4 separate regions of the Homo sapiens genome follow, and all the other regions are linked to region 2. The links are contacts of gene promoters, found by promoter capture Hi-C in blood cells and fetal thymus (Javierre and others, 2016). All regions are on one chromosome and are shown on one strand. Each heading gives the region's core, a stretch centred on a gene start or on the middle of the fragment in contact. The rest is flanking DNA. Distances are from core to core; before and after follow the strand shown. Region 1 overlaps U2SURP (U2 snRNP associated SURP domain containing). Region 2 holds the start of RASA2 (RAS p21 protein activator 2). Region 3 holds the start of TRPC1 (transient receptor potential cation channel subfamily C member 1). Region 4 holds the start of ATR (ATR checkpoint kinase).

The links. Contacts are between HindIII fragments. The CHiCAGO score rates a contact against its expected background, and 5 or more counts as called.
Region 1: a contact is called between a fragment that was not itself captured here and the fragment with the promoter of RASA2 in region 2, in 1 of 17 cell types (fetal thymus). The highest score is 5.3, in fetal thymus.
Region 3: the fragment with the promoter of TRPC1 here is called in contact with the fragment with the promoter of RASA2 in region 2 in 1 of 17 cell types (fetal thymus); the score reaches 11.6 in fetal thymus.
Region 4: a contact is called between a fragment that was not itself captured here and the fragment with the promoter of RASA2 in region 2, in 2 of 17 cell types (activated CD4 T cells and total B cells). The highest score is 5.6, in activated CD4 T cells.

The regions. Positions count from the first base shown.
Region 1 is chr3:143,002,858-143,005,557 of GRCh38, reverse strand. The region is part of intron 1 of U2SURP (U2 snRNP associated SURP domain containing); the gene reads right to left. Among named protein-coding and RNA genes, the nearest start is that of U2SURP, 2.6 kb to the right of the region's middle. The HindIII fragment of the contact is 3,034 bases long and covers 1-2,700 here.
Region 2 is chr3:141,485,577-141,488,276 of GRCh38, reverse strand. RASA2 (RAS p21 protein activator 2) reads right to left here and starts at 1,250. Exons shown (of 24, transcript NM_006506.5): 1 at 1,061-1,250. The coding sequence starts at 1,193. RefSeq lists a silencer at 462-1,341. The HindIII fragment of the contact is 5,296 bases long and covers 1-2,435 here.
Region 3 is chr3:142,722,767-142,725,466 of GRCh38, reverse strand. TRPC1 (transient receptor potential cation channel subfamily C member 1) reads right to left here and starts at 1,433. Exons shown (of 13, transcript NM_001251845.2): 1 at 736-1,433. The coding sequence starts at 907. RefSeq lists an enhancer at 15-881 and a silencer at 1,140-1,189. The HindIII fragment of the contact is 1,344 bases long and covers 763-2,106 here.
Region 4 is chr3:142,576,093-142,578,792 of GRCh38, reverse strand. ATR (ATR checkpoint kinase) reads left to right here and starts at 60. Exons shown (of 47, transcript NM_001184.4): 1 at 60-147. The coding sequence starts at 89. RefSeq lists an enhancer at 110-269. The HindIII fragment of the contact is 793 bases long and covers 1,029-1,821 here.

The DNA.
Region 1 (2,700 bases), core at 103-2,602, 1.5 Mb before region 2:
GTTCAGTTCTACCTTCCAGACCAAAACAAAACCTTCTACCAAAAAAACTACCTTACATTTTAAGATAAGGTTACAACCATAAACCATAATAAAGATTCAGTTTAAAATTGGCAAACTGTTTGAAAGCCTGATTTTCAAGGTTTGTATTTTGTTTGGACTTTTTCATAAACTTTCAGGTACCACAAAAAATGAAAACTGGCAGTAATAAATACCTAAGGTTCACAAGCCTTGAACAGGTCCTCAGTTTACTTATTTCTTAAAAGTGATACTTTTTGTTAATCAGCAAAGGCAGTCAATCAAAACAGTTCCCAAAGCAATTCAGCACTGGATGTCCAAGGAAGCCTGTAGTATTTTGTTTTATCCATTCACCTAACTCAATTTTTGGCGATACGGCAAAAAAGAAAAAAAAAAAAAAAGCCATAGTCACAGAGTGAAATAGCAGGGCACACAATTACATTACATTAGCAATATTACCAGCACAGGAGATGGCAGAAGGAAAGAAAATACTACATTTTCTTCATATCCTAATTTTGCTGAGTAAGCAAACAATTGACAGTCAAAAACAGTAATTTTTTTATAAATTAAATTCTAAGGAAATATGCTTAACAATTTTATAAGTAAACAATTACAGGCTCTCTCTCTCTCCTCTCAAAATGAAAGCTACTACATAACATCAACACCCCTCCCCAACCAAGCAATATTTTAGACTAGTGATAAACAAACAAATGCACAGGAAAATTTTAGCTCATTTCTAGAACATTTGTTAAATGTCTACATCTGCCAGGCTCTAAAATGCAAAGCACAACAAAATTACACAGAAAATTAAAGTGCACAGGGGTCTCTTCATTAGGGACAATTATGAATAAAGGTAAGTCATTCAAGTACATACACATACATAAAGTATCATTTTAAAACTAGAAGCCAGGCACGGTGGCTCACGCCTATAATCCCCGCACTTTGGGAGGCCGAGGCGGGGGGGGGGGGTCACAAGGTCAAGAGGCCAACAGATGAAACCCCATCTCTACTAAAAATACAAAAATTGGCCAGGCGCCTGTAGTCCCAGCTACTCGGGAGGCTGAGGCAGAAGAATTGCTTGAACCCAGGAGGCAGAGGTTGCAGTGAGCTGAGATTGCACCACTGCACTCCAGCCTGGGCGACAAGGCAAGACTCCCTCTCAAAAAAAAAAAAAAAAAAAAAAAAAAAACACCCCAACTAGAAGACCTGTAGAGGTTATCTAATTTAATCTTTTTATAATTAAGAAATGTTAATAATTTTGCCATATTGTACATTTAAAATTAACATTTTCCCAATGTCTAGAAATATAATAAGCATCCCTATCCATATTAACGGGAATGTAACTACCAAAGAAAACGACGAATCATGAAACAGAAGTATCTGTTCACTCCATCTGTATTGTAAAATATAAGCCACTCATCTGTTCTTTCCAGAGGAAAGGAAATCAAACCAGATATCAAAGGCTAGAAATTCTAAATACTGTAGTATTAGCCAAAATGATCTTACAATTTCTCTAATAAATTATGTGTTAGAAATAAAAAGCAGGGAAGCAGGGCGGGGCACGGTGGCTCACGCCTGTAATCCCATCACTTTGGGAGGCTGAGGCGGGTGGATCACGAGGTCAAGAGATCGAGACCATCCTGGCCAACATGGTGAAACCCCGTCTCTACTAAAATACAAAAAATTAGCCGGGCGTACTGGCGGGCGCCTGTAGTCCCAGCTACTAGGGAGGCTGAGGCAGGAGAATCACTTGAACCCGGGAGGCGGAGGTTGCAATGAGCCGAGATTGTGCCACTGCACTCCAGCACTCCAGCCTGGGCGACAGAGCGAAACTCTTTCACAAAAAAAAAAAAAAAAAAAAAAAAGAAATAAAATAAATAAAAAGCAGCTATCTGGGCAGTCATTATGACAGCTGATGACTTAGATTCCAAATCACAGGATTAAAATTTATCCTGACATTTTGAAAGCTAAGAACTTTTGATTTCCTCTAAAAACAAAAAGAGGGGAAAGAAATTAAGATTTATTATGTACTTCATAGACATTATCTCATTTGATCCTTATATCAACCATGTAAAAAAAGAATTATATCTACATTACAAATGAGGGAATTGAGGCTCCAGAGTTTAAGCAATCTGCCTTATTATCGCAAATATAATTAATTACCAAGTCAGGATTTGAACCCAAATCTCTTGTTAACAAAATTCATAATCTTCCCACTACATTATGCAGCCTCCAAATTAGTTAAGATATTCTGATTCCTTTCACAGACATCAGTAAGAAATCTGCTAATAGCATCAAGAGATTATAATCTAAGGCAATATAAACAGAAAAGATTACTGGATAATCCAATAATTTATTTATTGAGAACAGCCATACATTCAGTCATGAGAAGCACTATTTTAGAAGGAAGCCTGAACACAGACATTGAAATGTTTTCAATGTATCCAAGACCTCAAGTAGGGAATACTTAAAATATTACTTTGAGAAGAAACAAAAATTGTGAGGCTTATGCACGACTTGTTATGAACGTAGCTAGCTTTAGTAATAGCTCCCTAACGGTATGTTCTTGTCAGGAGTCTGTTGAGAAGAGTTGGTAGAGCTCGCCCCCAAAGAGAGGGAGACGAGAAAATGTACTGAGGAGGGGGAAAAAAAACTGACACAATACCTTGTAAAGAAGCCGAAACT
Region 2 (2,700 bases), core at 1-2,500:
AAGAAAATAATGCTAATTTTCGACAAATGCAAAAATAAATGTTATTGATCTCTCTTACAAACAGAAAACAAAAAGCACTTCATCTAAATAAACCACTGTGAAAAAAAAAATGGCAACCTGACACCAAAGGGTCGTTTTTAAAACTAAAATGTTCAAATGACAGAACTCAAATAATCTGTCCACAGTAATGCTCGGACAACTCTGAGCAAAATTTCGTATTTAGTCAACTGGTAGGCTCGCTCACTAAAGTAGCAATTACACGCATGAGAAGGAAGGGAATTAAGCGGGCTGAGTGCGGGCTGGGTGATTGTGTTTTGAGACCTGCTCACAGGAAGCCACTACATCCTGCCTTTAGTCCCGCCTGTCACGCCGTCCCTCGATTCAAGTCCCGGCCGCAGCGAGGTGGGGCAAGTACAGGTGTCCCGCCGAGCTCCTCCCGGGGCGCTCACCCGCGAACAGACCGCGCGGTAGCCACTCGGGCCCCAGGGCGGCCCGTTTCCTGCAGCTCAGGGCGCCTTTTTCAACCTCTCCCAGGCTCGCCGAGCCCAGGAAACGAACAGCCCCCTCCCCTCGGGCCAGCCCCACTTCCCAGCCCGCCACCTCCTCGGGCCGCGCCTCCGTATAATTACTGCTCGGCTCCCACCGCGGGGCCACTCCCCAGCGCCCGCAGCCGCGCGAAGGCCTGAGTCTGAGGGCGGCCGGAAGCTCCTCACGCCCCCGGACCGCGCCCCCGGCCGCGCCCCGGACTCCAGCGTCCCCGCGTCCAGGCCGCTCCCCACGACCGAGCCCCTCACGCCGGCGCAGCCCGGGCTCTCCCACCCCAGGCCCATCTCCAGCTCCCACTCCCTCCGGAGAGCAGCAGCCCCGGCCCACGCCGCCCCGTCGAGGCGACGCCGCCCCCCAACACACCCCCTTCCAGCCTCAACCGCGCCCGGCCCAGGCCCCCTCCCGGGCCCGCGATCCCAGCGCAGCTCGGCGCCGCCACCGCCGCGAACCCGCCGCCCCCTCAGCCTCGCGCCCAGCGCCGCCAGGGCGTCCCCTCAGCCCAGCCCCCGCTTACAGATCTTGCCCCGCAGGCTCTGCAACACTCGAACCTCGCGACTGTCCTGGTCCCCGGCCTCGGGCTCTGCAGTCGCACTCGCCGCTGGCGCCTCGGAAGAAGCCGCCGCAGCAGCAGGCGCCGCCGCCGCCATGGTGCCGCCCGGCCCGTGCCGCAGCCCTGCCGCCTGCGTAGCCGGGCGAGGCGGAGCCCAGCAGCGGCCTAGGCCCAGGCCAGCCGCGCGCCTGGCCCCGCCCCCGGGCCTCGGCCCGACTCGCCCCGCCCCGCCCCGCCCGCCGCGGCCCCGCCCCCGCCCCCCCCGGGTCTCCATTCACCGCCTTCGCCACCCCCGAGCCGGGCTACCCTGCAGAGAACCGTACTCCCGGCTTGGGGCGCTGGCTAAGGGTAGCTCCCAGTCGTGGCTCTGAGCGGCCTTAAAATCCCCACCAGGAGAACGCCCCGGCCCTCCCGTGATCCCTAAATCCTCCCGGGAATTGGGCTCCCCCAATGAATAGACCTGCACATCTCCTAACGCTCGCGGGAAATACAGGCCCTTCCCAATCAGGGAAACTCCCTGTGGGAAGAAAATAGAATGGAATTTGGCAGGTGGGTGGACCTCAAAAGTATCTTATTCAAAAGGAGGCAAGAGATGCATTTGAGGCTCTTCCAGTATTATCCAAATACTCCCCGCCAGCAAGCCAAACTCCTCCCACACAAATACTCTTTACTAGGACCAATTCTCTGCAAAACCTGGTTCAAGAAAAGGACCAGCCACCCCCAACTCCAGCGTGAGTGCAGTGCCTGAGACCCTCTCATAGAGAAATTCTGAAGCATTTACCATCACTTTTGTATTTCAGGAACAGAAAAAGCAAAGAAGGGCTCCCCCCCGCCACCGCCACCACTACTAAAAGTTGGCTTTGTTAAAAAGTTGACTGACCCTAGGAAATGTGTAAATCTTTGACTAATTGTTAGCTTTATTTCAAGGGAACTCTTTACAGTGAGTAAACTGCATGAATAATACCCTGGTATGTGATGAGGAAGACAATTTCCTGGTGTTGAGGTTGTTAACTACGCTGCCCTAAGAAGGAAGAAACTGTGACTTAATCGGGCAGGGTAATTCTTTTCCAGGGCAACAACAGGAATAAGCCAGTCAGTCAACAAATATTTTTTGAGGGTCAGACATAGTGATGGCCTCAGACCTCAGAGACTACACAAAGGTCAAGATGAAGAGAGCTCCAGCTCATTCTGGAGGGAGACACAGAAAAGGCCAGAGGCACTGGGAGATAAGAAATAGGACGGGGAAACCTGAAAACTGAAGACAAACGCGCCGCCTGTGCAAAGGCTGGACAGCCCCAGAGAATGGTCAGAGTTTAACATGGACCTGGCCAGCGAAGCTTCCAGTTCTGCCTGTGTTGCAGGTGACTTCTATTTCCCCATGTGATCTTTACACTTGTTGGATAAAGTGAACCACTTCCTCTTATATGAATGTTTTGCTGTCATTTCAAACATAAGTCCAAAACTTAATTTCCTGTCTCCCTTTCCAAATCTGAGTTCACATCTTATACTGTTACTCAGGCCAGAAACTTTGACTTTTTCTTATCCCTTGTCCCAATGCTGTTTTCAGTTGCCACATCCTTCTGACTCTGCTGAAATCTCTTCCT
Region 3 (2,700 bases), core at 184-2,683, 1.2 Mb before region 2:
TTGTAATTCCTGTAATTATTTTTCACTATCTTTATCTCCCAAAGAAAGATCTGGGAGCAATAAATCTTTCTCTCCAATAAAAAGCACTAACAATCAAAGGCGTTCCGTAAATCCAGAGAAAGTTTTGGCAACTAAGGCAGAATTTCTTCCGTCCCGTCCTTACTTCATGTATCTCCACCTAGGATATTCCGTTATTAATGCCAGTCAACAGTCACTGGCTAAAGCACTGGTCAGGTGAAGCTAAATAATAGAGGGTCTGGTTTTGTTTTTAAGAAAAACAAAAACCAGGTGATGAGAACCCTCCATACGAGGCATCCTAAGGTAAGGTGACGGAATTTTCCGACTGGAGTGTCGGAAACTAGCCTCTCGACTCCCGGAAGGAATGAACTGCGAGCCAGAGAGAAGACCAGGTCATTCATGCGGTCAGTAGCAAGGGCGGCGCTAAAACGCTGGGGTCGGGGCTCCCAAGGCGCTACCTAAACCCCGGACCCCAAGGCCAGAGCCACCCCCGACGGTGCAGCGCTCCGAGGGCGCAGCCCCAGCTCCACTCTCCCGCCAGCTCCACACTCACAGGGCAGAGGCGGTGAGGAGAAGACCGCCTGAGGCAGCAGGCGAGGCGGGAAGACACTCGGCGCCTGAGACAGAGGGAATGCCCCGATATAAGTTGAGGCGGGGGAGAGGACTAAAGGTCTGGAGGACAGGGGCGTCCAGAGGAGAAAGGGGCCTAACTCTCACCCTTGTCGCACGCCAGCAAGAAAAGCTTCTCATTCAGCGTATTCTCCTCCTTCACCTCCCGCACATCCTTCAGCGCCATCACCTCGTTCGGCGAGGAAGAGGATGGAGAGGAAGGCAGGGAGGAGGAGGAGGCGCCCGAGAGGTCCGTGCTCGGGTACAGGGCCGCCATCATCGCGGCCCATGAAGGGGGCAGGCCAGGAGACGGGGGCGGGGCCCCCACCGGCCCCGACCCCGACCCCGACCCCAGCCACGCCCCAGGGCTGGAAAAAGGATGAGTCGTTCCCACTGCTGCCTCGGCTCGAGGCCCGTTGGCCCCGAAGGGCGTCGCCTCCCCTGAGAACCAGCACTCGCCCTCCACTGACAGCCCCAAGTTGGTGGCGGCGCATGCGCGGCCCCGGGGCCAGCGACCCCTCCCCAGCCGCCGGCGCCCCGGCCGAGCCGGTCCGCGCCCGTCCGGGGACGACAGTGTGGCGCGCGCCAGGGCGGCAGCCGAGCACGGGGCCGTGCCAGGAGTCGCAGGGGCCGCGCCTGGGGCGGCCTAGCCCAGGAAGAGGACGAGAGATCTGTGGGAGAGGAGCTCCAAGAGGCGCTTCTGCGCACGTTGGGCTCCAGGGCTGTGGGAACCGCTGGCCCAGCTGCGCTCCGAGGAGATGTTCGCGACTCTGTCCTCACGTCATCCTCTGCTCCTCTGTAGCGACGACACTAGGGAGGAGCCTGCGGCAAGGGCGGGCTTGGGTGGGCGGGGCCTGCGGCAAGCGGGGCGTGGGTGGGTGGGGCCTGCGGTGGGGACGCACTGGGCTCCTGGAGCCCGCTGCAGCTTCCTTCGCTCTGGTGAGGTGAACCGCAGTCTGAGGAAGACTTCGCTCAATCGTCCCTTTCCACACCCAGGGTACTGGTTTAAGGTAATTAAGCAAATATGGAGCAGTATGTTAATTGAGTCTCTGACGACTTAATGTTTAGTCGAAATCCTTTGTGGAATTGTCCAGCTATTTCATATTCTGGTGCACTATGCTTTAAAGCACAATGGAGAGCCAGACTCGTGGGTTTGTATGTTGTACTCATTTTAGGCTGGAAATGAACTCTCATTTATAAAGGATATATAGATATATAATTATATTATGTTTAAATAATTTATACAAATATATAAATTTTTATTTCCATATTATTTCCATAGGTTTTTGAGGAACAGGTGGTGTTTGGTTACATGAGTAAGTTCTTTAGTGATGATTTGTGAGATTTTGATGTACCCATCATCGAGCAGTATACACTGAACCTAATTTTGTAGTCTTTTATCCCTCTCCCCCTTCCCAACCTTTCCCCGAGTCCCGAAAGTCCATTGTGTCATTCCTATGCCTTTGCATCCTCAAAGCTTAGCTCTCACTTGTGAGTGAGAACATACGATGTTTGGTTTTCCATTCCTGAGTTACTTCATTTAGAATAAGAATAATAGTCTCCAGTCCCATCCAGGTTTCTGCGAATGCCATTTATTCATTCCTTTTTATGGCTGAGTAGTATTCCATCATTATATATATATCACATATATATATACCACATATATATATATATATATATATATCACAGTTTCTTTATCCACTCATTGATTCATGGGCATTTGGGTTGGCTCCACATTTTTGCAATTGCGAATTGTGCTGCTATAAATATGCATGGGCAAGTATCTTTTTCGTGTAATGACTTCTTTTCCTCTGGGTAGATACCCAGTAGTGGGATTACTGGATCAAATGGTAGTTCTACTTTTAGTTCTCTAAGGAATCTCCACACTGTTTTCCATAGTGGTGTACTAGTTTACAGTCCCACCAGTAATGTAGAAGTGTTCCCTTTTCACCGCATCCACACCAACAGCTATTATTTTTTGATTTTTTTGATTATGGCCATTCTTGCGGAAGTAGGGTGGTACATACGGCATAGCAGTTTTGACTTGGAATTCCCTGATCATTAGTGATCTTG
Region 4 (2,700 bases), core at 176-2,675, 1.1 Mb before region 2:
TCGGGCGCCGCGCTCTTCCGGCAGCGGTAGCTTTGGAGACGCCGGGAACCCGCGTTGGCGTGGTTGACTAGTGCCTCGCAGCCTCAGCATGGGGGAACATGGCCTGGAGCTGGCTTCCATGATCCCCGCCCTGCGGGAGCTGGGCAGGTAGGGCTAGGCCCAGCCTGGGTCCTGCATCCTCCTCCGCTGATTCCGGCTTGGGTTTCACGTGCTCTCCCCTCCCCTGCTGCGCTATGGCTGGGATCCCCTAAGCCCCCGCTGCGGCCCTTGTGGAGATGCTCCGTGGCTGATTTGGGCGCTTCTCCCTCAGAGTGCCCGTTGATAGCACATGGGGCAGTCGCCACAAACCTGCGGGAAGCCGGTCCGTGGGGGAGAGAGGCGTCTGCCGGCCCTGGTTTACCACTCACCCCGATCGAGAGTTTGCTTCCTGCAGCTGGAGGAAGAGTCCCTGCTGATCGCTTTCTGGTCACTTTTCTACACTCATTTTCTTCTCGAAAATCTTTTTCCTTAGACGAGGGACTTGACCCATCAGTTTCTGTTCTTTGTGATCACTCGTGGAGGAATTGGTTTTTAGCCTTACATTTTGTCCCCAAACTGCCCTTGAAAGAAAATCACCGCTTCTCATTTTCTGCAAGTGACATCACTTGCTGGAAAAGGCAGTTTTTTTCTTTGAAGTGAAGTCATAGTACATACTGAAGATGTGACCTCCCTCGTATTGATCGTCCAGTTCCCGATCCGTTATTTTAGTCAGAAATTGGAGAGATAGACCCCTGGGTCCACAAAATCTCAGCGTGCACAGAGTGTTGCCAAAATTTGGAGACAATTTAATATTTCATTTGCAAATGCATGTTGTCTGTAAACCTCATGAAAACCAGTATCTTACCACAAGGAGGGAGAGGTGTTGATGGCTCTCACACCTCTTCAATACACAGGCAGGCTTCCCTGAACCAGGCCTAAAGACTCGGTAGAGCTTGTTTTGCTTTGTTTGTTTTAATTCTACACTACTGCGAACAAGAAATAAATAAGCTTGTGCTGCTACCGCAGTTAAATTATCATTTGGAATAACTGCTTCCCAATTTCTTAAACTGTTTGAAAACTTTCCACACAAAGTCAAAGCTGACATTAAGCCAATGGGATAGCTACTTCTCTTTCTTTTTGCAGCGCAGTTGTGTTCATTTCCACTGGTTGGCCATCCAAATAATCTAGTCTCAATATATGAATAAAAGGATAAATGAAGGGACCATTCTTGTCGTAACTGCATCACTATTTTTGAGTGTGTGAATTTTTTCCACTTATCTGTGGCAAGTATACTTTGTGTTTAGTTTATAAAATAACCTCTACCTCTCTAAAAGAAGAGGAAGAAAAGTGATCATTGTAGGAAGTTGGTTTACAAATTTCATCTTTCAGGCTCATTGTGAAGCTGAGTATATTTTTGCCACTTTGCTTTAAAGTAGAATTAACTGGTTAATACTTCTCTTCCCTCTTCTGTCTTCCTCCGTGAGTCCTGTTAATAAAAATAATTGGTTCTTGGATTATATATAGTCGGTTTCATCAGTAGAGTTTATGTTACCTTTCATTTATTTGTAGCTATTCCAAGAGAAAGAATAGAAAAACTGACCCACAGAGAGTTGTCTAATAGTTTTTAATTGTCATGGCTTTTTCATTACAACTACTTGAATCAAAAAAGCTAATCAATTTTCATAGTATATCCATGACATAGAATGAAACAAGTGTTACCACTGTTTAAGAAAAAGGGACAGAGAAGTTGAAGAACCAAAGGCACAGCTAGCAGATAACAGAGCTAGGTTTCAGATTCAAGCTTTCAAGGCCTTTTCTTCCAAAATGTTTCCTCTTAATTGACTATGGCAATTAGACTACTGAAAAAAAAAGATATTAGTGTTCTAATTTATGGGCTGCTCTTCCTCAGTCCCTCAGATAAATTTTGTCCTATTGTTTTTTTGCTATTAGCAGTCTGCTCTGCATAATCTTGCTAAATGACCTTTCCACTCTCCTGCCTTCAACTATAATCTGCTATTTGATGACTACTAATATGTTTCTCCAAATCATGTCTTCTATAGAATTGTATATTTACTGTATACTGGTAGTTTCACTGAGTGTCCTATGTGTAGTTAAGGTTCAGAATATCCAATACAAATTCCCCACATGTCCTAGCTTTCACAAGCTTTCTTTTTTTAAATTAAAAAAATTATTTTTCTCTTATTCATTGAAGTAGAGATATCTCAGTACATGGCACCATATTCACTTAGTTCTCCAAACTGGAAATCTAGAAGTCATTCTTAACTATTTTCACATGTGCTTTCAGTCTATGTCCTTGGCCCTCTTTTAATCTGTGCTGTCTTCCCAAGTAATCTTACCTAATCTCATGGCTTTAAATGTCATCCATATGCTGATAACTCCCAAATTTATATTTCTAGATCGGAGATATATATTAGGTTGCTTACTCAACATCCACACTGGGAAGTGAAAATTAACATATCCAAAGCAGAACGCCTGATTTACTGCGCCCTTGAATTTGTTCCTTCTCCTGTGTTATCGTAAATATGCCAACCAAAAGCCTAGGAGTCATCCTTGGTTTTTTTCCCTTGTCGCTTAATAATCCATAAGTTAGTTCTGACAACCATATGTTTAAGATACATCTAGAATCTAACACTTCTCACTGTCTCCACTGCTACCACCAGA